Linked DNA regions of Homo sapiens: regions 1, 2, 4, 5, 6 and 7 are each linked to region 3. Evidence: promoter capture Hi-C in 16 types of primary human blood cells and fetal thymus (Javierre and others, 2016). All regions are on one chromosome and are shown on one strand. Each heading gives the region's core, a stretch centred on a gene start or on the middle of the fragment in contact. The rest is flanking DNA. Distances are from core to core; before and after follow the strand shown. Region 1 overlaps DOCK2 (dedicator of cytokinesis 2). Region 2 overlaps DOCK2 (dedicator of cytokinesis 2). Region 3 holds the start of RARS1 (arginyl-tRNA synthetase 1). Region 4 overlaps DOCK2 (dedicator of cytokinesis 2). Region 5 holds the start of LCP2 (lymphocyte cytosolic protein 2). Region 6 has its middle 2.5 kb from the start of LINC01366. Region 7 overlaps DOCK2 (dedicator of cytokinesis 2).

Region 1 (4,041 bases), core at 163-2,662, 1.2 Mb before region 3:
TTGAGACCTATTCTGCCTGCATTTATTCCATTGTTCTTTGAGAGAGCAGAATAGGACCATCCCTCCCGACACAGCATGTCAGGGAAGAAGGAAGAAGCTTCTATTATTTCCTTACTCCATACATTTGGCTCAGTTAACAAGGTAAGTTTATCAATTACTTGGAAATCCCTTCATAAATGCAACCAATGTGCATACTGGGGACATCTGGTCACTGTGCTAGGTGCTGTGAGAGAAAATGAGACAAGCAAAGCAAGCGCCTGCTCTCATGGAGACAATAGTGAAATGTGAGGTTAGAACAAGAGAACCCCTCAAAAGTAGAAATCAGGCCTGTCCTTTCTGTGTTGACCTGGGTATACGGATGAGGAGATGACTGAATGCTGCAAACAACTCTAAAGGAAGGCAGTAGAATAAATTTCAAATTTATAACGCACAATTCCACAGAGACTCGAGGAAGGGAGAAATCATAAGTGAGTGGCATATCAGGAAAAGTTGCAGGGAGATGGCACCAGAGATGAACCTTAAAGAATGAGGGAAAGTGGGAGGGAGCTGAGCACAGCGAGTGACAAGGCACAGAGGTCAGAGAGCACAGGGCACAGGAGGGAGAGATGGATTCCCTTTGCTGAGGAGCAATGGTGGGAGAGACCTGCTCAGATGGGATAGCGGGGCCATATGAAGACCTCCAGTACTGACACAAATAAAAACCAGGTGACCTTACCTGTAACATTTTGTGCTTTATGAGGTATCCCCTATACCAGTCTGCAAAAAGAAAACAAAGAAACAGTTCCCTCATTTATTACAAGTTTGTTGCTAGTGTTTTTCTGTTTTGTTTTGTTTTGTTTTAAACTAGTAAAACTACTGCAAATTGCTTTAGACCTTGGGTACAGATCAAACTCTGGAAGCTCATAGTCTTTGAAATCTGTTGAATTGGTTGCCAACATCTCAAAATAACATCTAAAAATAGACTTCATATAAAGGTGCTCCTGATTTTGAAAAATCAGGAGCCCCAGTAGTGCTGGCCAGTGCTCCCAACTGGCTGGGAGGAGAAAAGCAGCAGGGTCCACCAGACAGAGCATCTGCCTCCAGTCCACCAGCCTCAACGCAGCCCCTCCCTTGTGTCCATTGCCTTCCTGGGCCCTGTGACCATCTGCATGCTTTCAATTCCTGCCTTCGGGACAAAGAAATGCTCCTGATTTGGGCAAACATCCTAAAATAACACTGACAGTTCTAACAGCAGCAAATAGTGTCTAAAATGCGATTTACAAAAGTTAGTCGTTACAAAACAAGTAAGTTTAGGGACAGATAAAGGGACAGGGATTTTAAGAGATCTACCCTTTGCAGGAATATTATATTAAAAAATGTATCAATGAGCAGAAATCCAAATTACACACAGTCCTCAGACAAAATACGCCTGAGTGCAGCAAGTCCTGATGACTGTAATGAGTCGGCTGGCCTTTGAAATGATTCCAACACAGCCAAGGAGTGGCATTTGTCATCTTTGTAAATAAAACGCGTCTGTCAGGAGCCTCACTAGCAGACCCCTCATTACCGGGCTGACAGATTGTTGATGAAATATGTTCCCAACAGACATACAACCAAGCCCAAAAACAAACAACTTAACATGCAAAGTCACCCTTCATAGTCATGAGCCAGCCTGACGGCCAGGTCCTAAAGGAAACTCTGAAGCAACAGGGGGCCGTGATAGCTTCTTTTTGAGTGACAGAAAGTGAGAGGAAGGAGAAAAGGAGAAAGGAAGGAGAGAGGAAAAACAGAAGGAAGAAAGGGAGGTTGGAAAGAGAATCTCAGGTGGGAAATAAAAATACCATTCTAAGCACTCTTTATATATTAAGCCCTTCAATATTCATAACAACCGCATGAAGTAGGAACGGTTATTATCCTGTTTTACAAATGAGTGGCCTACCTGAGGCACAGAGAAGTTAAGTGACTTTCCAAGGATCACACAGCTAGTAGGTTGCAGTGTCAGGTTTTCAACATAAGCAACTATCACCTATGCTTCCTATATTATGAGGGAATGATTTGATGGTTACCTAATATTAATATTTCCAACTTCTCAATGTCTAAATCTCCAAAACTAAATCTCCACTAAGCTACTTTCCACCTGAATACTTCCAGTGATGGAAGATGTTCTACTTCATGAAGCATCACATTCTATTTTCAGTGGCCTCTAATTATTTGTCAATAACTGTTGAAAAATAATCCATAATTAACAATACTGCTTATACTTTCTAAGTGCTTCCTATGTGCTGGTAACTCTGTTGACATTTTTTGTTTTGTCTTATTGTAAATTAATCTTTACAACAATCCTATTAAGTAGGTACTATTACTGCTTCAGCTCTGCAAATGAAAATAGACAGGCACAGAGATTAAGCAGCTTGCTGATGGTCACACAGCTAGTGGGTGATGCAGCTGAGATTTACACTCAAGCAACACCCTGCTGCGCTGTGCTACAACAACCTCCTTTAGTTGCCCCTTTTCACCAACTAGACAGAAATGCAACTTTGTAATATTATTATTACCTGTCTTTCACTGGTCACCTGCAACATGCAAAGCTGTATGCTAAACGTTGTACAGGCATTCTCTCATTTAATCCTCAGAGCGACACTGTGAGCTAAGTATTATCATTCCCATTTTATAGATGAGGAAACTGATATTCAAGTCAATTGATGGGCTGGGCCAAGATCATACAACCAGAGTTCAAACTCAAGCTTATGTGACTTCAAAGCCAATCCTTAAAGCTGGTTGGCCACATTGTCTCCCATGTGATGGGGTTAGAGTGCAAATAGAGATAGGGTCATCTGGTAGCAGTGACTTGAACCCACATGATGGCTAAGGTCACTAAAATCCACCAAAAAACAGAAAAACAATCGAGGGACCAATAGATGGTCCCTACACAAAGCTCATGTCCACATCTGCATCTCTGTGACAGGGACTCCATTAAGGTAACTTGTCTTCCTGGATCCAAGGAGTTTGCCTGCTCTGACCCTCAAAACTCGGTTATGTGTGTACGTCTTATAGGTTTCCTAATTCTCAGAGTTGCACCTCACTCCTGACGACAGGATTCTGCTGACACTTACACCCAATATTCTTATTCTGGCTCCCAGGTTCAAGTTCAATCAATATTAATTGTGCACCAACTATGTATATTGCACTGGGCTACATGCTTCCAGGGATAAATCCCCAGGGATTCATTGCAAGAAGGCTTTATCTCCACTTGCTGGATGGTGACACTGAGATCAAACAGGTGGGGAAGAAATTCCAACACATTCTTTAGCAGAAAAGCAGCCAAACCAGAATCCAAACCCATGCCTAGTGCATCAACTGCATCCGGACTATCCTTATGACTTTTTTCTGGCATTTTTACTTCTGCCAGGTCATTTATCTCTGACCACTGATGTTGGTTCCCTAATATGGTCACCAATCAGCTATATCTATCTATGCTCCAAAACATGACTGGGCAGATAACAACGGTTGGTACAAAAGAGAAAAATTCCTGGACAGTGGACACCATGATCAAAAGCAGGCTCAGTGTAACATGGCATTTACCATGTCCCAGAACCCGCTCCTGAGTTCAACACTCTTTTGAATTCAACAATAACAAGGGCTTTTTTGCTAACCGTTTTCATGAGATAACCACTTTCTTTAACATAAAATTCACAGTGTGCATTGCTATGGACTGAATGTGTCCTCCCAAAATTCGTATGTTGCAATTCTGACACCTGATGTGATGGCATTAGGAGGTGGGGTCCTTGGGAGGTAATTAGGTCATGAGAATGGAGCCTTTATGAATGGGATTAGTGCCCTTACAGGAGAGTTTGCTCCCTCTCTCTTTGCTCTCTGCCATGTGAGAGGCTATGACAAGAACACAGCCATCTACAAACCAAGAAGCGGCCCCCACCAGAAACCAGATCTGCTGGTGCCTAGATCTTCAACTTTCCAGTCTCCATAAGTATGAGGAATAAATTCCTCTTATTTAAGCAGTTTATGATACACAGTAGCCTGGACTGACTAGACATGCATTCTGGA
Region 2 (3,454 bases), core at 561-3,060, 1.2 Mb before region 3:
TGGTGAAGGAGGAGTTTGTGGAAGCAGGAGATCAGGGTTAAATGGAGATGGGGAAGGAAGCAAGACCCAAATAAGCAGGTCTGTAATAAGAGCAGAAGGCAGGATGCAAAGAAAAGCAGGCATAGCAAGCAGGGGCCAGAGACCCGGGCACCACAGCTGCTCTGGCCAGAGGGGCCTGATCACACTCACAGAGGAAATAAGAGCAACACACAGAATCAGGACCACCCAGTGAGGGCTAGCAGTAGACCAGCGTGAATTCCTGGGGCCAGGAGAGTACCACATTGTGGTCCTCAAAAAGCACAGACACCTGGTAAAAGTTATCCCTGCCTCCAGAGAAATAAACTGTAAGAAATGTTTAGGATAGTATGAGTAGTAAGTCAAATTTTAAGCTTGAATCAAGACCCTGGAATTTCTTCTTAATAATTTAAATCTGAGTTTTTGAAAAAAGCACCCTTGCTGTTTCTCCTAAGTGAAAACATGATACCAGCTAACATTTATTAAATTTATGAAATAAGTACCAGATATTGCATGGAGCACTTTGTACCCATAATCTCATTTCATCATTGAAACACAATGAACTGGTTTATCCCCATTTATAGATGAGGATGCTGAGGCTCAGAGAGGCTGATTCAATCACTAACCCAGGTACTTATAGAGGCAGAGATACCACTATACCCATTGTCTGTCCTGCATGAACATCTCCTCATAACTCTTACTCCATGCTGCCCCTTGCACTCTAGCCTGGGGCAGCATGAGGATCTGTGAGGAGCAGAGACAAGTGGGAGCAACTCCTGTTGCAGCACAGTGTTCTGGTTCCTCTCCCTTTTAGAGAGTTATCCTAACTCTGCAGTCTGATTCTCTGTGCCTGCCAGTAGGACAGGGAGCTGCTTAGTGTCCATCACATGGAACAGGGAAGCATGGTCTGCTCCAAACTTTGTGTAATTCCACAAGCTCAGAAACCTTGGGCATCTGCACAGCTGGTTGTCTGAGCTTCAGGATTAAAGGCACTGCAAGGGGCTTTGTAAAGAAGCTGAATCGTAGAAGATTATCACTTCAACTCTTTCTGAATGTTCCTTACAATGCTCAATACCTCCCAGGAGCTCAGTCATTCTACAAAAGCCTAGTGGATATTGGACATATTTATGGCCACCAGCATCTTTCAGACACACTTCCTATAATTTAGGAATTACTCATAAGACTGCCTCCCTGTGGCAGAAGCTAGAACCTGCTCTGCCAGCTTCCTTTGCAGCTACAGCACTGGCATGTGCCTAATCAGAGACACTTGATCCAGACTTTGACTCAGGAGCTAGTGACACAAGAAGCGAGGGACAAGGAACTCACTCTCTTCTTTCTTTGGCTATAGATAAAAATGAATCCTTCTGAACAATATAGTAAAATAAAAATTCCACCCCTTCTCCACAACGACTCTTCTTTCCTTACCCAACTATACGTTGCATACTGACACAGGAAAATCCTTAGCCCTTGCAAGTGTTCCTGGGCAGGATGTGCAAAAAATAATGGCAAGGGAACAAATAATGGGAGCTAGATCCGCTGCAGTTATGCAAGCAGGGAAAGAGAATAAAGGATTCACAGGAAACAGACACACAATACCAGATACAATTAGCCCCAAACCAATAATTCAATTCTGATTTCCCAACAGCTGGGTTAGACATCTCAAAGCATTGAAACTTCTGTTTTCTAGTTTCCCACAGAAGATGCCCCCTCGTATGGAGAAATACCCCAATAGCTTCCCAATGCCCTAGAGACTCCACTGGAGAGCAGATCATTGCTAAAGATTCTAAAAAGAACAAGACACAAAACCTACCTTCTCCTAGCATGAGGTCCTAGACCGTCTTTGCAGGTCAGCCTACATTTCTGTTCATGAGGAAGGATTCAAGATTAGGCTTGGGTTGCTTTAGAGACCTCTCCTGACCAAATGTCAGTGATGTGCTGCTATTCTAGGGATACAGCAAGGAATAACAGATCACCCTGCTCCTGAATAAGCCAAAAGTCACTTAGCATTTACGTCACAGCAGCACTGAATTTACACCAGTTAAAGAGTTAGGGGTTCTGCAAGATTATATGCCTTGAGGCAGAGAAGAGCAAAACAAATGCACAAATGTATTTTGTCCCAGTAGATGGAAAACACAAAAACTAACAGACGTAAGACATGAGAGAGTTATACTGGCTGGGCGCAGTGGCTCACGCCTGTAATCCCAGCACTTTGGGAGGCCGAGGTGGGCAGATCACGAGATCAGGAGATCAAGACCATCCTGGCCAACATGGTGAAACCCCGTCTCTACTAAAAAATTAGCTGGGTGTGGTGATGCGTGCCTGTAATCCCAACTACTTGGGAGGCTGAGGCAGGAGAATCAGTTGAAGGTGGGAGGCGGAGATCGCAGTGAGCCATGATTGTGCCATTGCCCTCTAGCCGTGATTGCGCCATTGCTCTAGTGACAGAGCAAGACTCTGTCTCAAAATTAATAAATAAATAAGAGAGTTATCTTAACAGAAGCTCTGCAGTCTCATCTCCATGTGCCTTCCAGTAGGAAGGGGAGCCGCTCAGTGTCCATCTCATGGAACAGGGAAGCTCAGCCTGCTCCAAACTCTGTATAATTCCACAAGCTCAGAACCCTTGAGGATTAGCGCAGCTGGTTGTCTGAGCTTCAGGCACTGCAAGAGGCTTTGTAAAGAAGCTCAATCCTTGAAAATGGAAGGAAAAAATGGAAGGAAGGAAGGAAGAAAGGGAGGGAGGAAGGGATGGAAAAGGAAAGAAATATAGGAGAGAGGAGAAGCAATAAAATAAATACACCAAAAGGAAGAACTGAAAAGGTCTGAGAAGTAGAAAAGACATATTCTACTTATACATAAAACATTCTCACTTGGAAGATGGGATAAGATATCCTTGACTTTTAAGCTGTAACTGCAATGTCTGAATTCTTGAACTCCTCCAAGAAAATCACTCTTAGATTCACTGGAGTCTCATTGGTTTTCCCAAATCACTGAGAAGTATCTCTCAAACCTAGAATACCCGACTCAGACTTGACTAAATGACAAGCCAGAGGAATCTGAAACAGACACTTCACTTTCAGAATGACCTAAGTGCATTTGTTCTGTCGCATGGTTCAAGACACTCACATCTTTCTATTCATAACCTGAAATCTCAAAGAATGTGTTAAGAGAATCCCAAATGATTGCCTGTTTCAGATGCACTGTCAAATATAAAGCTTTAGCAGCCCATCCATTGTCATGATCACAATCACAATGATGGTCTTTTTTTTTTTTTTAAGAGTCAGAGTCTTGCTTTGTTGCCCAGGCTAATTCAAGTTTCTTTTGAGAACTCATCTCTAAAATAACAAGTCCACACCATAAGTGGCTGACCTGGCTATGACTCCAGTAATGCACACATGACCACAACTATACAAGACCCAAAACAGTTCTTGGCATAGGGTTT
Region 3 (3,622 bases), core at 841-3,340:
TCCACATTTCCCCTCTCTACCAAGGCGTGGCATAGACCATGGGAATCATTAATGTTCCCTTTGATGAGCTGTGTTTCTTTCTCCTCTGAGATTTTTGCTGACGTTAGCATATTATCCTTAATAAGAAAATATTGGCCAGGCATGGTGGCTCACGCCTGTAATCCCAGCACTTTGGGAGGCCTAGGCAGGTGGATGACTTGAGGCCAAGAGTTCAAGACCAGCATGGCAAACATAGCGAAACGCTGTCTCTACTAAAAATACAAAAATTAGCTAGGCATGGTGGCGCATGCCTGTAATCCTAGCTACTTGGGAGGCTGAGGCAGGAGAATTGCCTGAATCCCAGAGGCTGAGGTTGCGGTGAGTCGAGATCGTGCCACTGCACTCCAGTCTGCTTGACAGAGCGAGACTCTGTTTCAAAAAAAAAGAAAAAGAAAAAGAATATATTAACCACACATACATGTGTTTTGGGAGACAGGAATCGGAGTAAGTATATAATGGGATATGCCTCATGTCTCATATCCCTAGTTCTTTTCTTTGGCTCGATAAACACTCTGATTTAGCAAGAGTAGTTAAGTTTCAGGTTGACCAACCTGCTTTTATTCCCAAATCCTATGACCTGGGACTCTTAAAAAACCCAAATGTCCTTTGTCACATTCAAAATAGCTCAAGGGTCTGCCTTTCACCCTTTCTGGGACTAAACAATTTTCCCATTTCTTCCTGTTTCCAGTGTCTTAGGTCCTAGACTAGACCAGACCAGGCTTTGTAGTTTAACATCTAAAACTAAAGACATGTCAATTCAGAAAGAAATAAAGCTTCCAACTTAAACTGCAAAACTCAGGGGGAGTTCCTCACCTGAAATTTCAGAATACTTACTGGGAGATAGCTACAGCCAAAACCAAATTGCCAAAAATGAGCATACATTATGTTCCAGGAGCTGAGCTAAAAACACTTTTCAGAAATTACCTTCATGATTATCACAACCAAGTGAGGCAAAGATAAATACATACCGATAAATAAATGGCTCAGAAATGTAAAGAGCTTGCCAATTTACTTGACTAACTTGTACTTTGTGACTGCTGATTAAGTATACAGCCGTAACAGGACAGAGTACTGTGAACTATCTTCCTACCATCCCTCCCCACCTGGGCATAAAAGGTAATGGAACTGTTCCGCTTTCACTTTTTTTTTTTGTAGGGGGACGGAGTCTCACTCTGTCGCCCAGGCTGTGGTGCAGTGGTGTGCTCTCTGCTCACTGCAAGCTCCGCCTCCCGGGTTCACGCCATTCTCCTGCCTCAGCCTCCCGAGTAGCTAGGAATACAGGGACCCCCCCCAACACAGCCGGTTAAGTTTTTTTGTATTTTCAGTAGAGACGGAGTTTCACTGTGTTAGCCAGGATGGTCTCGATCTCCTGACATCGTGATCCGCCCACCTCGGCCTCCCAAAGTGCTGGGATTACAGGCATGAGCCACCGCGCCCGGCCGCTTTCACTTTTATATGGTGTGGCTGCTCCTTCCCGACGAATGCTGAGGGCACAGAGCAAGCTCCGCTGGTCTGATAATGAATCACCCCATGGGCTTATTAGGAATCCTCTCGCTCAGTAACCCGGGAAGAACTGCGGCTGAGCTGCAAACCAAGACCCAGAGCTCTGAATGTATTCCCCCCTTGTCTATCTCCCCGCATCCCCTAAATCGCGTGTGTATGCAGAAGAGGAGGTGGATTGTAGGGAGAGAACTGTTCTGAACATGCCAGGCTCCAGCCCACCGAAGACGCTGGTTTGGGGGAGGCCTGGGAGAGGGTGGGGACCCTCCATTCCGCTGAAAATCACAGTCACACGGGCTTTGAAATGATGGGTGCTTCCTCTCTCAACCCTTCCTGTTCCCACAGGGACCGTGCCGCTCCACTCTGAGAGGACCAGGATGGTCCTCGCCTAGCTGTCCCGCCCCCGAAGCCGCTTGGGCAGGAGTCAGAGCCTGCTCCATCTCTTTCAGGCCTTCCCGCCGGTCTCCTGCGTCCAAACCTGCTGCAGCAGCCGCGCGGAGCACTCAGACACCAGTACGTCCATCCTCCCATCAGCGTCTCACTCGCCAAGTGGACGGAAGCGGAAACGGTCAGCCTCTCCCGGAAGCGGAAACCCCCTCCGGTCCGCTGTCCCGTCGGACTGGGTGCTGGCGCCTCTGCTGCCTCCTGGCGGGATCCAGTAGACACTGCGAGGAGAACCCGCGGGGATTTCGGTCAGGAGCGAGGCCGCAACTCAGGGACGTTTGGGCGAGGGGAGAGGAATTGAGCAGACACTAACCAGAGCTGCTCTGTGCTTGGATAGACTAGGACAGTCACTGACCTAGAGCTTCTGGCTCTCAAAGGCCTCACTTTGCCCCTTTGTGAAATGGGCACAAAACTAACAAATCCATTCATTTATTCAACAAACATTTATTGTGTACTTTAAAATGCCAGACAGTATTCTAGGCTCTGGGGGCACAAAGAAAACAAAACAGACACGATCTCCCCTCTCACGGCAGACACATTTTAGAATGGAGAGAGAAAATAGACCAAAAAAGGCAATAATCTCAGGTAGTTTTAATTGCTAGGAAGGCAATGTGATAGAGTGACTTGGGTGAGAGAAGACATCTCTAAGCAAGTGACATTTGAGTTAAAATCTTATTTATTTTTCCAGTTTTATTGAGGTATAATTGACAAAGATTGTATATCATAACGATGTACAACGTAATGTTTTGATATATGTATACATTCTGAAATGATTACCACAACCAAAATAATTAACATAACCTTCATCTCATACAGTTATCATTTGCATGTGTGTGTGTGTGTGTGTGTGCGCGCGCGCGCGCGCGCGTGTGTGCTGTGAACATTTAAGATCTATTCTCATCCTGGGAAACAGCTAAGACCTCGTCTCTACAAAAAAATGGAAAAATAGCCGGGCATGGTGGCATGTGCCTGTAGTCCCTGGTATATAGGAGGCTGAGGTGGGAGGATCACTTGAGCCCAAGAATTTGAGGCTGCGGTGAGCCATGATCATGCCACTGTACTCTGCCTGGATGACAGAGTGAGACCTTTTCTCTCTCTATTTAAAAACAAACAAAACGAAACGAAAACGAAAACTGCAAGTATACAATATACATTACATCTCTAGAATCTATTCATCCCGCCTAACTGAAACTTTGTAACTTTGAGCAACATCTCCCATCTTTCCTACCTCTGAAGCCCTGACAACCACCATTCTATGCTCTGCTTCTATGAATCTGAATTTTTTAGATTACACATATACATGGGCTAATGTAGTATTTGTCTTTCTGTGCCCGGCTTATTGCACCAACATAATGTTCTCCAGGTTCATCTATGTTGTCACCCATAACAGGGTTTTCTTTTATAAGGCTGAATAATATTTCATTGTATATATATTGAGTTAAAATTATAAACAGCAAACCTGGGATATATGTTCTAAGAGGGCAGGGACCTTAATTATCTTGTTCACTCTTCTCTATGACTCCAGAACTTAGAAAGTAGCACTCTAAACGTTTTCGCTTCCGTGCCTCATAAAAGTATTTTAAAAATTCATATCCCAGTGTATACTTTTAAAAGTTGACATCGAGCTAGGCACAGTGGC
Region 4 (3,788 bases), core at 113-2,612, 1.3 Mb before region 3:
GCTGGTCCCTTTCATATGCTAAGAGACCAGGAGCAAGCTGGGTGAGGGAATTCAACACTATGATTAAAAAAAAATCAACAGCCAGGCTAAGGCAGACATCTCCCCCTGAGTCCTACCATGACACCCAGGGTTTCAAAGAATAAGGTTGGCTTGCTGCTCTGGGCTGTAATTACCCAAACAATGACAATCTATTGAAGACAAGCATCCTGTCCCATTCCCCAAACACACAGCGCCCCCCAAATGGAAGCTTGGCATCCTGCACTGTAATTGCTAAATTTCCACACGTGGTTCTACCCTGGGCAATGCCTCCAGTAGGTGGACATAGTCTCTATTCTTGGATGTTCCATGGAACATCAATGGGTTGTTCCATGATGCCAACTAAAAGCCAGTAAAAATGGCTATGCTCTTGTCAGCAGAGAAGGTCCAAACAACCAGGAGAAAAATCCAGAACATTTGCTCTGGGGGCCTTTTTTATTAGTTTTCATCTAAGTGTTCAATTTTGAGAAGTTGGTGCCTGTAGAAAGCAAACAGCACATTCTACAGTCTGGATTTTCAAAGTTGGATCTTTGCATATTCCATGTCCCTTCTATCCCATGAAGATGAATTCATGAGTACAAATTAATGTGTTTGAAATATTTGCCATTTTGTGGTTTATTAAATGCATATTGGAAGATGCTAGATTTTTTTTTTTTTTTTTTTTTTTTTTGAGACAGAGTCTTGCTCTGTCTCCCAGGCTGGATTGCAGTGCCATGATCTCGGCTCACTGCAAGCTCCACCTCCCAGATTCACGCCATTCTCCTGCCTCAGCCTCCAGAGTAGCTGGGACTACAGGCGCCCACCACCACGCCCAGCTAATTTTTTGTATTTTTTTAGTAGAGACGGGGTTTCACCGTATTAGCCAGGATGGTCTCGATCTCCTGACCTCGTGATCCGCCCGCCTCGGCCTCCCAAAGTGCTGGGATTACAGGCGTGAGCCACATGCACCCAGCCGGAAGATGCTAGATTTTATAGACTGGACAGGGTTCTTAAATTAAGAAGGTAAAGAACTGAGAATGAGCCCAGCTATTCCTCTATTTCCAGTGAATACTAAAGGAAAAAAAAAGACAGGTCATATTAGAGCAATGGTTTCTGAGCATGGCCTCTACATTGGTAGCATCAACAGCACCTGGGAACTTGCTAGAAAAATAAGTTACTGGACGCCAGGACCCCACCGTCCAGACTAATGATCAGAAACGTGTTTTAACAGCTCCTCCAGGTTACTGGGGGTGCCTGCTCAGGTTTGAGACCTGCTCAACACCTGTGGCTCTTCATGCTGGCTGACAGTTAGCATCACCTGGTAATCATCACCTTTTCATTGCAGTGCCCCACCCACCCCAGACCAATTCAGTCAGAATACTTGGGACAGGGGCCTAGGTATTACTGCTTTTGATGCAAGATTTTTCTTCTCAGTCGCTTTGCAAGCCGGGGACCCCCAGCCAGTGACGCCCTGCCCAGGTCTCACTCAGCCCATCCAGCTCACCAACTATGTTATAGCTTGTACCCATATTCAGCGGTTCCGGATCTCTTGTGCCGCACCCAAGAAGAATGAGGATACGTGGGGCATTGAAGGGTGAGGAGGGCGGAGAATAATTTTCTTGAGCAGTGAAAACGGCTTTCAGTGGGGGGGCGGGGGGATGGTGGGGGGTGGAGGTGGGGCACTGGTTCCCCTACCCCAAGATTGGAAAGTTGTCCCCTCCCCGTCCCTCCCCACACCTTGTGTGACTGGGTCTGGGGCCTTTTATAGACTCAGAATGGGGACTGCCGATTTGTTTGTTAGTACGCAAAAAAAGGTTAAAGGGAAGACACCACTCAAAGGTGGGCATGACAGTGTAGAAAACCAATTAGGAAAAGGTAAGTTTATGTAAAATAAGCGAAGGGTGGGGATCAATCAGAGGAAAGTGTGCCAAATGGTAGGACAAGTTCTCAATCCAGTCTGAGGATTTAACATACAGCTTGACTTTCAGGTTTTAAACTCTTCGGCTTGGAGATGGGGTTTCACCGGGGACCCACCCCATCTTCCTACCCATTTGGCTGACTCCTGCTAGTTTGACTTTTAAAAAGCTCCCCGGGTGGCTTGTAATCCCAGCACTTTGGGAGGCCAAGGCAGGAGGATCACTTGAGGCCAGGGGTTTGAGACCAGCCTGGGCAATATAGTGAAACCCCATCTCTACAAATTAATTAATTAATTAACTAATTAACCAAGTGTGGTGGCTGGTACCTATAGTTGTATCTACTCAGGAGGCAGAAGCAGAAACCTGGCTCAAAAAAAAAAAAAAAAAAACTCTCGAGGTGATATGACTATGCAGGCAATGAGGCAATGTTGAGAGCCGCTATATATTAGAACATGAGAAATTTAGGTACTTTTGGGCCTCTCATTTTCAGTTTAGCTCAAAGTAATCATGGCTACTGAATGCCTCCTATTCATTGAAGAAGCTTTTGAGAAAAGAAGAGAGATTTCCATCTTCATGAGCAGGAGAGGTGAGATGTGAAGCTCACCAAAAGCATCAAAATTTCTACCAAATTCAATGGTGATAACAGTATTTAATAACTCATCCAGCAAAGACAGTTGCTCACCCGGAGAAAGGGGTGGGTTAGTCCCCACAGTCAGAATTCATTATAAGAGCACTGCACTCAGAGGCGGTAAAGAGTGACACGCACCTCCCACACACCTCAAGTCCAGATGCCACAATCCCCCACGGGGAGCTCAGAGCCTCCCACTCACTTCTTGGCTTTGAAGCCCTAAGTATCGAGGGTGTGTAAGACAGCAAGCAGCCTCTTCTCACCAGTGTCTGATGTCAGGGAATGTGCAAAAGGGTGACAGCCTGTCAGGGTAGAGCTCTAGGGGGCCACTCCCCTGGGATGGGCAGAGCCTCAGCATCCTACTTCACAAATAACTGTGAACTGGGGCCATCTTTCCACCAAACCAGGAACTTGACAATTAGCACATTATAACTGGATCCCCCAAACTGGGGGCCACTGGCATATTCCCAAGGACCCACATTTTTTTCCCCATTTAAAGGGATCTGAGCATTACTAAAATGTAAAAAACACTGTGGATTGGCTTTTCAACAGAAAGAGGCAAATTTTTTTTTAAGACAGAGAGTCAGGGTCTGTTCTGTCACCTGGGCTGAAGTGCAGTGGCAAGATCATAGCTCATGGAAACCTTGAACTCCTGGGCTCAAGGAATCCCCTCACCTCAGCCTCTCAAGCAGCTAGGACTATAGGTACATGCCACCACACCCGGCAAATTTCTTTTCTTTTCTTTCCTTTTTTTTTTTTTTTTTGTAGAGACAGAGGTCTTGCAATGTTGCCCAGGCTGGTCTCAAACTCCTGGCCTCAAGTAATCCTCCTCCCTGGGCTACCCAAAATGCTGGGATCACAGGCATGATCAACCTCCCTGGCTGAGGCAACATTATATAGGATGTTACCACAGAAATAATAGACAAACCCTCATGTTTCTACACTATGAGTAAGACTGAAATCTCCCTTTAAAAAAACAATTTTTAAAAAGATCAAATAGCTAAGACTGGAACCAGCTCAACAGCTGGCTACTGAATGTCCTTATAGAAACATCATCACCCTAACATCATCATCTGAATGAATCTAGAATATCTAAGCTTTTGGTTATTATACTGTCTTTCCATTAAATGAGGTAGGAGTAGAAAGAAAAAGACCATGCCTTTGTATCCCCTATGCCTGTGATTACACAGAGTCTGAATCAGACTGACCTGTGTTTGAATTTTGACCCT
Region 5 (3,667 bases), core at 884-3,383, 1.8 Mb before region 3:
GAGTTCGAGGCTATAGTAAGCTATAATTGTGCCACTGCGTTCCAGGCTGGGCAATAGAGGGAGGCCCCATCTCTAAACATAAAACAAAAGCAAATAAAAAGGAGAAATTAAAATAAAATAAAGTAAAATTGCTTCTACTTTTAAGGATGATCTGGAATGTTCCTTTTCATAGGTGGCATGTGTTTTGAGAGATAGCGAGAGAGAGATTGATTGATCCACGTCAGGAATGCCCTCCCTTTTACTCCATCCTCCACGGCCCTGCTTAAATCCCAGTTAATTCCATGACATCTTCTGTGCTTACTCTACTTCAAAGTGATTTCTCTCTCTCTTTCTCTTCAAATGGCTTTTTATTGTTCACTGCTATGCTAGTGATTTGAAAGACCAGGTGACCTCTCACCCGTGATGGAGCTTTTGTACAGCAGAGCTGTGCTTTATACAGAATGATCAGCTACAAAGAGCTCTTAGGTGCGGCCCAGGCACAATGGCTCACGCCTGTAATCCCAACACTTTGGAAGGCCTAGGCGGGCAGATCACCTGAGGTTGGGAGTTCCAGGCCAGCCTGGCCAACAGGGATAAACCCCGTCTTTACTAAAAATACAAAATTAGCTGGGCGTGGTGGTGCATGCCTGTAATCCCAGCTACTCGGGAGGCTGAGGAAAGAGAATCGCTTGAACCTGGGAGGCAGCGGAGGTTGCAGTGAGCCGAGATGGCACCATTGCACTCCAGCCCGGGCAACAAGAGCGAAACTCCGTCTCAATAAAAAAAAAAAAAAAAAAAGAAAGAAAGAAAGAAAGAGAGAAAAGAAAAGAGTTCTTAGGTGTGAGGCCCTGCAAGGAGCAAATGGCCTGGGCTACCTTCACTGATGCCCTCAGCACCTTCTAAGGTGAGGCTAACACCAGCTCACATTGATGAGCTAGTGCTGGGCCTGGAGCAAAATGTGTATTTCATTTAAGCTGCCCACCAGCTTGTGAGGCAGGTGCATTACCGTGACGGCGGGGCTCCTCAGAGTGTGTATAAGAAGAAAACTGTGCATGGCCAAAGCTATGCTTGAAAACCCTCAGGAAGGCACCACCTCAAGGACCAACATAGCATCACTTAGTAAAGGCAACAGCCTTGGAACAGATGACTCGTGTGTGTGTGTGTGTGTGTGTGTGTGTGTGTGTGGCATTAGATGAAGTAGTAACTTGTGTTTAGAGGTTGCCTTATTGCACAAATATAGTTGCTTTTATACACTGGACTCACCCTCTGCCAATAAGTTGTTCAGTTATGAGAAATGAACAATGTCTGAAACTAAGAAAACAGCAAATTCTCACCTCCTATCTCCAGGGAATGTGCTCTTTGGCTAGAATATATGGCAGAATCAATAGTGAATAAAATATATTGTGGAAACAATAGTGAATGGAATATATGACACTACCAATAGCAATTGTTAAGTTTTTTTTCTTTTTAATTTTTCTTTTTAGGTTTGTCTAGTTGAATGCATCTAAGTTTTATGTGCATATGAAGAATCACTGTTTTCCTATTATACAGATTTGGAAACTGAGATTCCCAGCTTTTAACTCCTTGCCTAAGGTTGCATAGCACAGAAATAGTCATATCAGAAACTGAGCCCTGTCTGCACAGTGTAGCACCTTGTTCAGCCCTGGGTGCCTGACTCACTCACTCCTTGAGGACCCTCTCATGACAACTGTAAAGAGGCAGCTGAAAGAATCCCAGTCTTTGATGGTGGGAGGGGAAAGTGGTTGGAAAGCATTAAAAAAACATGCTCCAGCAGTTCACTGATGTGGGAAATTGTCTGTATTTCAGGTCAACCGTCAGGATAGATTTTGGTCTGCAAAGCCCCAGCTGAGCAAGAATGCAGTGTAGACATATGGGTGCCCAGAGTTTAAAGGAAAATTACTCAGACTCACATTGGAGTTTAAGACCCCTTCATTGCCTCTCCTACTGGGTTGGGGTGACTGGAGCCAGTGGGGAATTACCAACCCTGTGGCTCTCTCTGCATCTCAAGCCTCCAGAGCTGGGCTTCCTTGTTTACTTATTTAGAGCCCAGCAGAGGAAGTGGTAAAGGAAACTAGCTGAGTCGTTTTCTGAGAAGAGACCATATTTGTTCGCAGAGGAAGCCGTTGCTTTCTGGGATCTGGCTACGCCAGAAAAGACATCGGCTCCAACAGGGGTGTTCCACAGGGTAGCTGGGAGTTGGAAGAGCCAAGAACGCCTCCGAGCTCTGGATTTGAGCTTCTCTGCCCATGGGTGAAGCGCCCATGCTCAGCTTGTGAGCTTCTTCCCGGGAGAGCAGCCATGGCACTGAGGAATGTGCCCTTTCGCTCAGAGGTCCTGGGCTGGGACCCCGACAGCCTTGCTGACTATTTCAAGAAGGTAAGCCTTGCTCTTGTGTGAATGGTCATGATGCTAGTGCCCTTGGTGGGCTGAGCTGAGGCTTGACGATGGAATTGGGGCAGAATGTGGGAGGTGTATAAGATAGCAATGGAACCCTATGGCAACTTTACTGGTTGAGTGAGCGCCATATAGACCGCTGAGTTTTCCTGACCATGAGTTCCGGAGAGAAGGATGGGAGCAGAAGCCCTCAAATGAGTATGTGCCTATTATGTGCTAGGGTTTGAATTCGGTGTCTCACAGGCACTGTCCCATTTAGCGCTCCCTACTATGTTGTGAGGTCAGCATTGTTATCCCCTTGACTCAGCTGCAAAATCAGCTCAGGGAAGTGAAATGGTCCGAAGCCCTAGGGACTACATGTGATAGAGGCAAGACTCAAGCCACACCTATCTGGTTTTAAAGTCCATGCTCTGAGATGCAGAGAACTGTTGTAACTGCTAATGAGATCAACGCTACTTACTAGAAAGGGGAGACGTGGTGTCCTGGAGGCAGGAGAAAGAATAGGCAGGGTGGGAGGGCTGGATAGAGGACTATGATGAGCAGTGCCAGACACAGCATTTGGGCTTTCACTGCTCACGACCCTAAGGGGGGTCCTCAAGCTCCCGCCTGGGGCAGTCTCCTTGGAGCCTTATGAGAGTCTTGTGAAGCAGGACAGAAAACTGATGTGAGCCCCAATTTATAGCTATGAAAACTGAGGCCCCTAGAGGAAAAGAGGCTTGTGGCGGTGCTGGGACCAGAGCGTTGCTGTCTTATCTTCTGGACTTAGAGGAAAGGTTGAAGGATCCCTGTGCTTGGTCATTGGCAGAAGGGGACAACGCATCTGCTTGGGCAGATCTCAAGCCACATGACTTAGTTATAGTCCCTCTACCCTGACCATGTGGTAAGATGACTTGTGCGAGACGGTTAAGCTTCTAACACCCTCATCCCTGCAGGCTGGCATCGGATTCTGTTGATATTCCAGACTGTCATAAAGATGAGATTGTAAAGCTAAGATGGTAGAAGTCATCTAATTCAGCTTCGTGTTTTTCCTGGGGAAATTGAGATTCAAGAGGGTAGACGAGGTTCCCTAGGACGTATAGCCAAACCTGGGGTCTATGCATTTCCGAGGCATTTATAGTCACAGCTGTTCTCCCCCAACCTGAAGAAGAAAATGAGAACATGTTGAACTAGGTGTGGTATGGTAGGGGTACAGTTCACAGATCCTGTTTTTTGCCATATTTTGTGCTTTCATTTCTGTTATTTTCCTTCTGCAAGGTCATAATAAACTTAGATT
Region 6 (3,872 bases), core at 1,221-3,720, 1.8 Mb before region 3:
AGAACTGAAGCTGTTTCAGTTTTTGGTTTGCATGTTGTTGTTACTGTCGCAAAAGGGAAATATCAACTTGGATATTAACAAAATGGAGAACTGAGACCCACCCTGCGATTTTTGCCATTTTCTCATTTTGGTAGAACAAGAGCAAAGAACAAAGGCGCCTTCTAATGGCATAACCTAACTTTTAAGGTAACAGCATCATTATATGTTTAAAGCAAGAAAAGAAGAGGAAATAATGTTTGTCAAAATCTATCATGTGTCAGACATTTTACCGAACTTTCTCCCCTAAGCCCAATGACATAGGTACTTGTGTCCCCATTCCATGATGGGGAAATGGGGGCTAAGAAAGGTGCGGTGACTTGGTTAAGGTCATACGTGTAGAGATGAATGCTAGAGAAAGGATTCAAAATCAGGTCTGGCTGTTGCTGAGTTTCCTGTATTTTCCAAGTTCTTACACTTTCCCTAACTTCCCTGCCTTCATCTCTGTCCTCTCCTCTGCTTACTCTGTTCTTTTCTGTTCCTCAAACACACAAAGCTCATTCCCACATCAGGACTTTCTGTCTCTCTTTGTTTGGCTGCTTCCTTTCTTATCATTTGGGACTCATCACAAAGGCCACCTTCTTGTAAGGTGACCTGACCATTCCTTTTAAAGTAGTACCCTCTGGGATATTGCTCTGTTAATTTACTTTACAGTACTTCTCACTCACCTACTTTGTTTATTTCCGTAGTCTGTGACCCCCTACCCACCCCTCACTGACCCTGCAACAGACACTAGAATGTAGGGCTAGTGAGAGCAGAGGCCTCTTCTTTCTTGTTCTTCTCTATATCCAAAGAGTCTGGAGAAATGGCTGGGACATTGAGGACATTCAGAAATATTTGTTGGATGGATAGGTGGGTGGGTAGATGGATGGATAAACAGGTGGGTGAGTAGACGGATGAGTGAGTGGGTAGATGGACAGGTGGATGGGTAGATGGATGAGTAGATGGATGGATGGACGGATGGGTAGGTAAATGAATAAAATGGTAGATGGATGGACAGGTGGGTGGGTAGATGGATGAGTAGATGGTTAAATGGACAAGTGGGTAGGTAGATGGATGAAAGAGTAGATGGATGGTTGGATGGGTGAGTAGGTAGATGGATTAGTGAGTAGATAGATGAATGGATGGATGGGTAGATGGATGGATGGATGAAGATGAATGAGTTGGTGAATGTACGTATGTATGAATGTATGGTGTCTACTATATGGCAGGTTCCAGTGAGGATGTAGAGATGAATAAAATGATGTCTCTTTGATCCAAATGTTTGCTTTGAAATGAGGGAGACCTTCTCAATAGTCAAGTAGTTGCATCAAAGTATATTAGGTGTTCTGAGGGAATATCAGATCTCAAAAGCACATTTGGGATAGAAATGAGGAAGGGATCCATTTTTGCTGCTGGAGGGTGATCAGAAAATGCTCTATATGGGAGATAACACTGTATCTGATCCACGAAGGATAAGTGGTTATTATTCAGGTAATCAATGAATTTAAAAGCTTCCCTGCAGCCTAGGAAAAGGGAAAGAAGCTGAACACAGTCTTAGAGTCTAAAAACTGCAAGCTATTTGGTGTGATGGGACAAGAGGTGTGAAAGATCTGGTCTTGATTGCTACTGCATATTCAGTGTTTAGCATTCAATTACCCTACTATTGGCACTTCATAATAGTACTCAAGAATAGGTCCTCAATAATTATTTGTTGAAGAAAGGAACAAAAGGAGAGCACAGGGAAAAGTAAAGCTGGCAAGATTGACCTGTGCTGGGTACTGCTGGGCTAAGGAATGTAGATGCTAGTCAGAGGAAAATGGACCATCACAGAAGGGTTGATGAGATGCATGTTTCTGATGGTCACCCTGCTAAGCACAGGAACTGTGTTGGGGAAAGTCCAGGAAGTGGCAGGAATAGACAGAGTGGACTATGGCTATGGTCCGAGTGTGGGATGTTGAGGACCTGAGCTAATCAGGATAGTGTACGTGAAAAGGTAAAGAGGGATTCTAGAGACTTGAGGAAGGTAGAACTAGAGTGCTATCCATGGTTCCATATGGATGAAGAAGGGAAGAGGGAGGGAATATAAAGAGAAGAATTTTCCATGCCCCTGCTGGAATGACTAGATGCTAGCCACTGGAATACAAAATGTATGGGGTGGGGTTCACCATGAAGCTAATGAAGGTTATGTGCGAGAATCCCTCCCTTTCACATCCACTATCAAGGTCCTAAACCTACTCTTGTATTCATTGTTTTCTTTTTATTTATTTTTTCCTAAAGAGCCCCTTCCTGGCCAATTATAGAATCCTCAGGCTCCACCAAGCCTGGATCTTCCCCTGGAAATACAAGGAGAACAGTTTGGGGGAAAGGATTCCATTTGGATTGTGAATTCCATTTGGGGCATGGTAGGTTAGAGGTGGATGAAAAACCTTGAGGTGGAGATGTTCTGCAAGGAGCACAGTGTGGGACAGGGCTTGAATCCTGGCTTCATGCTGTGTGGACATGGGCAAGTTGTTTGAGCTCTGTGCTCAGTAAAATGGGATGTTAATGATAGTACACCCTGATAGGGTTGTAAAGATTAGATGAGACAACATAGGTCAAATGCTTAGAACAGTGCCTAGCACATAGTGAGTGTTGAAAACAAGTTGCGTGTTGGCTTTTGGTATTCTGTGGGGCAGTGTATATCTGAGAGTCACTGGAGTTGAGGGTGGCCTTGGGGGGAGTTGGATTGTGTAGCAAGAGTGTATTAGGGCTTGATATGAGGAAGACCAAGGACAGAGCTCTGATATTTATCAGGGTGAGCAGAGGAAGAGGAACCAGCAAAGGAGGCTGACGAGGACTAGCCAAAGGGGTCCTGGAAGCCAGGGGAGGGGAGAATACCAAGCAGACACTCAGTCATGGGTGTCACCTGCTGCTAAAAGTCTAGCAAGAAGGTGACCACAAGAGGCTGCTGGCATGGGTTTTGGGGACATCTCAGTGACCTTGTCAGAGGGCTCTCGGTGGAGAGTTGGGTACTGAGGAATGAAAGTCCCATGCAGACGACAGGTGTAGATGGTCTTCTGCAGAACCTTGGCTTTGGGAAAAGACAGGAGGCAAGAGGCAGAGGAGAACAGAGGCAGAGAGAAGGTGTTAGGGTGGTTGATTTGTTTTGCTTTGGGAGGACATGATTCACTGTTTAAAGATGAGATTCACAGGCTTTGGGGGCTGTGATGAAGAGTTGGTGTGTAAAGTTTAACAATTTGAGGAAGAAATAAAATAATTGATTAAAAAAAAAGTGAATGCCTTGAAAGAATTAGGAAGGGGAGGAACAAGTGACACAATAAGTGGCCAACCCTGAACTGCTCTCTGAGTCTCGAAGGAAGGGGGCAAGGGTGGGAAGGTTATAAATAAGCTTCTAGGTAGGAGGACAGGAAATGGGGCAGTTATGCCTGATAGCCTCAGGTTTGTTGCTGTGAAGTAGGAGGATAGATCATCTGCAGAAACATAAATACACAGCTTCTCCCACACCGTGGGCACTTAGGACAAATTATGATTACGAAACTTAAAATCTCAAGGGAATATTAGGGTTAGAGGAACCCGAGTTGATGGTAAAGTTATTAATATCCCTACAAATTGTTTTACTTCGATTAATATAAAGCAGTGAACAAAGCATACCGAGTAAAAACAACCTCAGAGGCAATTTGCACATCTTTGTTAGTGCTCTACCGTTAATTTTAATTTGCAAACCTTTGTTTGCTTGTAGGTGCTTGAAGCATTTCAGGATCTTCCTACCCTGAAGTTTCAACTTACAAATAAATGCTAGCTAATAAATAAAGTTATGAATCATTTCAAACTTACAATGAAGTTGAAAGAATCTT
Region 7 (3,815 bases), core at 185-2,684, 1.2 Mb before region 3:
TGGAGACTGAGCCTATCTTGTTGACCACTGAATTCCTAGCGCCTGGCCCACAGTAGAAGTGCAATCAATGTTTATTGAACTTTTAAGAAATGCTCATTGGACGGAAGGGATGTGAATGAACATGAAGGGCAGCTATGTCCCTTCTTCTGGCTATATTCTTTCTTGCATTTATCAAGATTGCTTCAAAAGACACGTCTTGGCTGCCAATTTTGATTGCAGCCATCGAGTGCCCTGTGACCCTTCAAGATGGATTCGTACCTCATCTGGGGCCCTGCCATCTGCTGACATGTTTGAAAACACAAGCTTCAGCCAACACCAAGTGTTAATAGAGTTTGGACAAGTGGCTGTGTAAGAGGAACAAAAGCAATAATGGAGAAAGAATGTAATTGCCCGAAGCTCACTTTGGAGAGTCTCCACTCCAGGGGGAAATAGAACTAGCAGCAGGTCCACTTTGGTGGATTCAAGTGAAATGCGCTCATCGAAATGCGTAAGCAGTGTGCCTGAAGTCTCTGGACAGGTGTTGACAGCCTCCGCACTGAGGCAGCATCCTGACATTGCATCCACGAGGGTGACTGCGATGACCCAGCAGAAGCCTCTGGCAGCCACCCCAGAGCTCAAACCCGGGCGGGCGCTAGTCAGCAGCAAATGAGGCAGAAGAATTACAGCCAGAGGGAACCTAGAAGGAGGAGGTGTTCCTCCACCCACCAGGAGAGAGCAGAGAGCAGAAGAACAGCTAACCTCTGCCAAACACTTCCTGCATACCAGACACTATTCCAAGGGCTTTACGCACAGCCACCCATTTCATCGTGAATCTGCAGTTCTTGGGGTGGGTGTGATTATTATCGTCTCTGTTTTACAGATGAGGAAACTGAGGTAGTGCAAGATCAAGTAAACATCCTGGGGTGAACACAGCAAAGAAGGGGCCAAGTGAGGATTTCACCCCAGACAGGCTGGCTCCGGAGCACACTCTCTCAGCCATGCACCACACTCACATCGCCTCTCACGAGTGGAGATGCATTTGGTCCCAGCACTGTGCCAGGTGCTTTAGGCCTCTTGCTGGATCATGATAACAACCTTATGGGCTGCATATTGTAGCGCACAGTTTTTAGCGAGCCAGTGACATGCCCAGCCGACAAGACGAAAGTTAGGATTCCAGTGAATTCTCTCAAACAGTGATCTCAACTGGGAGCGAATTTGCCCCACTAGAAGAGACATTTGTTGATGTCTGGAGACATTTTTCTTGTCCCAACCTGGGGGAGGGGAGTCGGGGGTGTCAGTGCTACTAGCCTCTAGTGACTAGAGGCCAGAGATGCTGCTAAACATCCTACAGTGCACAGGACAGCCCCATAACAAAGATTTTCCTGGCCCACAATGTCAATAGTGACAAGGTTGATAAACCCTGCTCTGAAACATCATGCTGGATTTCACTCTCTCCATTCTAGTACTCCTATAGGCACATTCACACACACATTCTCACACACTCTTGCACTCACACATGCACACACACACTACAGAGTTGGAAGAGAGTTTATGGTGAAATCAATCAAATCAGCCCTCCAGCCCCAAATGCAGAGAGCGTCTGGCACTCTGCAGGATCCTGCAGCTAGAAAAGTGGGGTGAAAGGGGGTGGCTCCTGCTCTCCTGAGCTTCTGTGAAATCTAGTCGAAGAGACAAAATAAACACACAAGAAACAAAGAGCTGTCTTCAGAAGTGAAAGGCTAAACTGCAAGTCACAGCAGCTGTGGACTCTCAGAGGGAAAAAGAGGCCCCACTAAGGAAGTGAGACTGGAGGGAGAGGGAGGGGCAGAGACTGGCAAGGGGAAGAACTGGACTGAGAGCCCCCAAGGAGGTGGGGAGAGGGTGTGACAGCAGGGAAGAGAGGGGGGAAACCAGCTTGATGTGTGAGGGATGAATGGCAGGGCCATCTTAATGGAGTCCCAGGGAGAACTGGTGAGCTTGGTAGAGTGACCATCTGCAGGAGTCCACTGTTTGGAGACGAGTTCAAGAGTACTCTATTTATTGCTGTGCTGTGCTCTCACAGGACCTCGCCTCCTGACAGGGAAATGGATGAGGTGGGAAGATAAAGGCAAGATGGGGCAACTCAGTCCATCTGAATCCTATAAGGCCACCAGAAAATTTTAAAACCTCCAACTCTTACCCTTTACCCATCCTCCTCCCCCTCCACTCATCTACCCACCCACCCATCCATGCATCCACTCACCCATCTATCATCCATCTACCCACCCATCCATCTAATCAACAACTATCCATCCACCTATGAATCCACCTCTTCATCCATCCAATCAGCAGCCGCTGAGCACCTGCTCTGTGCTGAAGAAGAACAACAGACATGGCCCTGCCATCATAGAGCTTGCATTCTACAGAGGTGCCCAGATCATTCAACATGAGGCTGCAAGGAAGTATGAAGGGGATGATGGCAGCTCTAGTAACATGAAGCAAAGGGGGCACTGCCCCCAACCTGTCCAATGGGGACATTAGTACTAATAATGGTGCTCTCTGCTGCCTCATACAGAAAGAGAGGTTATGACTGGACTGTAAGCTTCCCGAACTGTTTTATTCATCTCTGGGCCCAAACACCCAGCTAAGGACCATCACTCAGGACAGGCTTACTGAACTTAATTGATCTGAACAGACTGTAAGAATTGTTTTCCGACTCTTGACAAGCTCCTGGCTTCAAGAATTCAAACCTTAGGCAGAATGCTTTGGCTATACCTATTGTATTTGTTTACTAAATAGTTACAGAGTAAAATAAGCACATTTTGCCAGGGACCTTAACTGGCTTCCATGAATGAGTTTTGGCGACATTACAATGCAGAACTGCACATGTGCATATTTTAATGGGAAGAAGTGTGTTTCTAGCGGTCACAGGATTCTCAATGGGACCTATGCTACAATAATGATTAGTTTCTCTGACCTACCACGTTCCTGCTATTGCAGTGATGCTGAATGGACTCAAAGTTAACCCTCCATACAGCTCTGCCCTCCAACAATGTACCAGCTAGTGGGGAAGATGACATGCAGTTACCTAACTAAAAGACAAGGTGAAAAGGGGCAACTTCCATAAAATAGAGGGAATTTTCAGAGAGACCTCAAAGATCTATGCCTCAGTTTCCTCACCTGCAAAATGAAGACAGAAGTTATTTTTCTTAGGGTGTCTGTGAGGGCTAAACATGATGACACAAGGGCTTTGTAAATGTACCATGCTATGGGACTGGTACTCAAACAGATATATAGACCAATGGAACAGAACAGAGACCTCAGAAATAACACCACGCATCTACAACCACCTGATCTTCGACAAACCTGACAAAAAGAAGCAATGGAATAAGGATCTCCTATTTAATAAATGGTGCTGGGAAAACTGGCCAGCCATATGTGGAAAACTGAAACTGGACCCCTTCCTTATATCTTACACGAAAATTAACTCAAGATGGATTACAAACTTAAATGTAAAATCCCAAACCATAAAAACCCTAGAAGAGGCTGGGCGTGGTGGCTCATGCCTGTAATCCCAGCACTTTGGGAGGCTGAGATGGGCGGATCATGAGGTCAGGAGATCGAGACCTTCCTGGCTAACACGGTGAAACCCCGTCTCTACTAAAAATACAAAAAATTAGCCGGGCGTGGTGGTGGGCTCCTGTGTAGTCCCAGCTACTCGGGAGGCTGAGGCAGGAGAATGGCGTGAACCCAGGAGGTGGAGCTTGCAGTGAGCCGAGATTGCTCCGCTGCACTCCAGCCAGGGAGACAGAGTGAGACTCTGTCTCAAAAAAATAAATAAATAAAAATTTAAAACC

What was found. Contacts are between HindIII fragments. The CHiCAGO score rates a contact against its expected background, and 5 or more counts as called.
Region 1: a fragment that was not itself captured here is called in contact with the fragment with the promoter of RARS1 in region 3 in 3 of 17 cell types (naive CD8 T cells, total B cells and activated CD4 T cells); the score reaches 7.6 in naive CD8 T cells.
Region 2: a contact is called between a fragment that was not itself captured here and the fragment with the promoter of RARS1 in region 3, in 5 of 17 cell types (total CD4 T cells, monocytes, fetal thymus and 2 more). The highest score is 7.2, in total CD4 T cells.
Region 4: a fragment that was not itself captured here is called in contact with the fragment with the promoter of RARS1 in region 3 in 1 of 17 cell types (naive CD8 T cells); the score reaches 5.0 in naive CD8 T cells.
Region 5: the fragment with the promoter of LCP2 here is called in contact with the fragment with the promoter of RARS1 in region 3 in 4 of 17 cell types (naive CD8 T cells, total CD8 T cells, activated CD4 T cells and 1 more); the score reaches 6.7 in naive CD8 T cells.
Region 6: a fragment that was not itself captured here is called in contact with the fragment with the promoter of RARS1 in region 3 in 1 of 17 cell types (fetal thymus); the score reaches 5.2 in fetal thymus.
Region 7: a fragment that was not itself captured here is called in contact with the fragment with the promoter of RARS1 in region 3 in 2 of 17 cell types (naive CD8 T cells and total CD4 T cells); the score reaches 6.5 in naive CD8 T cells.

What each region holds. Positions count from the first base shown.
Region 1 is chr5:169,666,003-169,670,043 of GRCh38, reverse strand. It overlaps DOCK2 (dedicator of cytokinesis 2), which reads right to left. Exons shown (of 52, transcript NM_004946.3): 3 at 716-756. Among named protein-coding and RNA genes, the nearest start is that of DOCK2, 31 kb to the right of the region's middle. The HindIII fragment of the contact is 2,626 bases long and covers 100-2,725 here.
Region 2 is chr5:169,719,754-169,723,207 of GRCh38, reverse strand. All of the region lies in intron 22 of DOCK2 (dedicator of cytokinesis 2), which reads right to left. Among named protein-coding and RNA genes, the nearest start is that of DOCK2, 84 kb to the right of the region's middle. RefSeq lists an enhancer at 3,258-3,454. The HindIII fragment of the contact is 2,838 bases long and covers 392-3,229 here.
Region 3 is chr5:168,484,939-168,488,560 of GRCh38, reverse strand. It overlaps RARS1 (arginyl-tRNA synthetase 1), which reads right to left and starts at 2,090. Exons shown (of 15, transcript NM_002887.4): 1 at 2,018-2,090. The coding sequence starts at 2,062. The HindIII fragment of the contact is 3,317 bases long and covers 815-3,622 here.
Region 4 is chr5:169,804,752-169,808,539 of GRCh38, reverse strand. All of the region lies in intron 26 of DOCK2 (dedicator of cytokinesis 2), which reads right to left. Among named protein-coding and RNA genes, the nearest start is that of DOCK2, 170 kb to the right of the region's middle. RefSeq lists enhancers at 1-355, 2,990-3,039, 3,170-3,219. The HindIII fragment of the contact is 2,225 bases long and covers 250-2,474 here.
Region 5 is chr5:170,296,243-170,299,909 of GRCh38, reverse strand. It overlaps LCP2 (lymphocyte cytosolic protein 2), which reads left to right and starts at 2,133. Exons shown (of 21, transcript NM_005565.5): 1 at 2,133-2,376. The coding sequence starts at 2,299. RefSeq lists an enhancer at 2,951-3,030. The HindIII fragment of the contact is 7,744 bases long and covers 1-3,304 here.
Region 6 is chr5:170,326,927-170,330,798 of GRCh38, reverse strand. No RefSeq gene overlaps it. Among named protein-coding and RNA genes, the nearest start is that of LINC01366, 2.5 kb to the left of the region's middle. RefSeq lists enhancers at 1-103, 2,870-2,969. The HindIII fragment of the contact is 1,877 bases long and covers 1,532-3,408 here.
Region 7 is chr5:169,645,736-169,649,550 of GRCh38, reverse strand. The region is part of intron 1 of DOCK2 (dedicator of cytokinesis 2); the gene reads right to left. Among named protein-coding and RNA genes, the nearest start is that of DOCK2, 10 kb to the right of the region's middle. The HindIII fragment of the contact is 2,257 bases long and covers 306-2,562 here.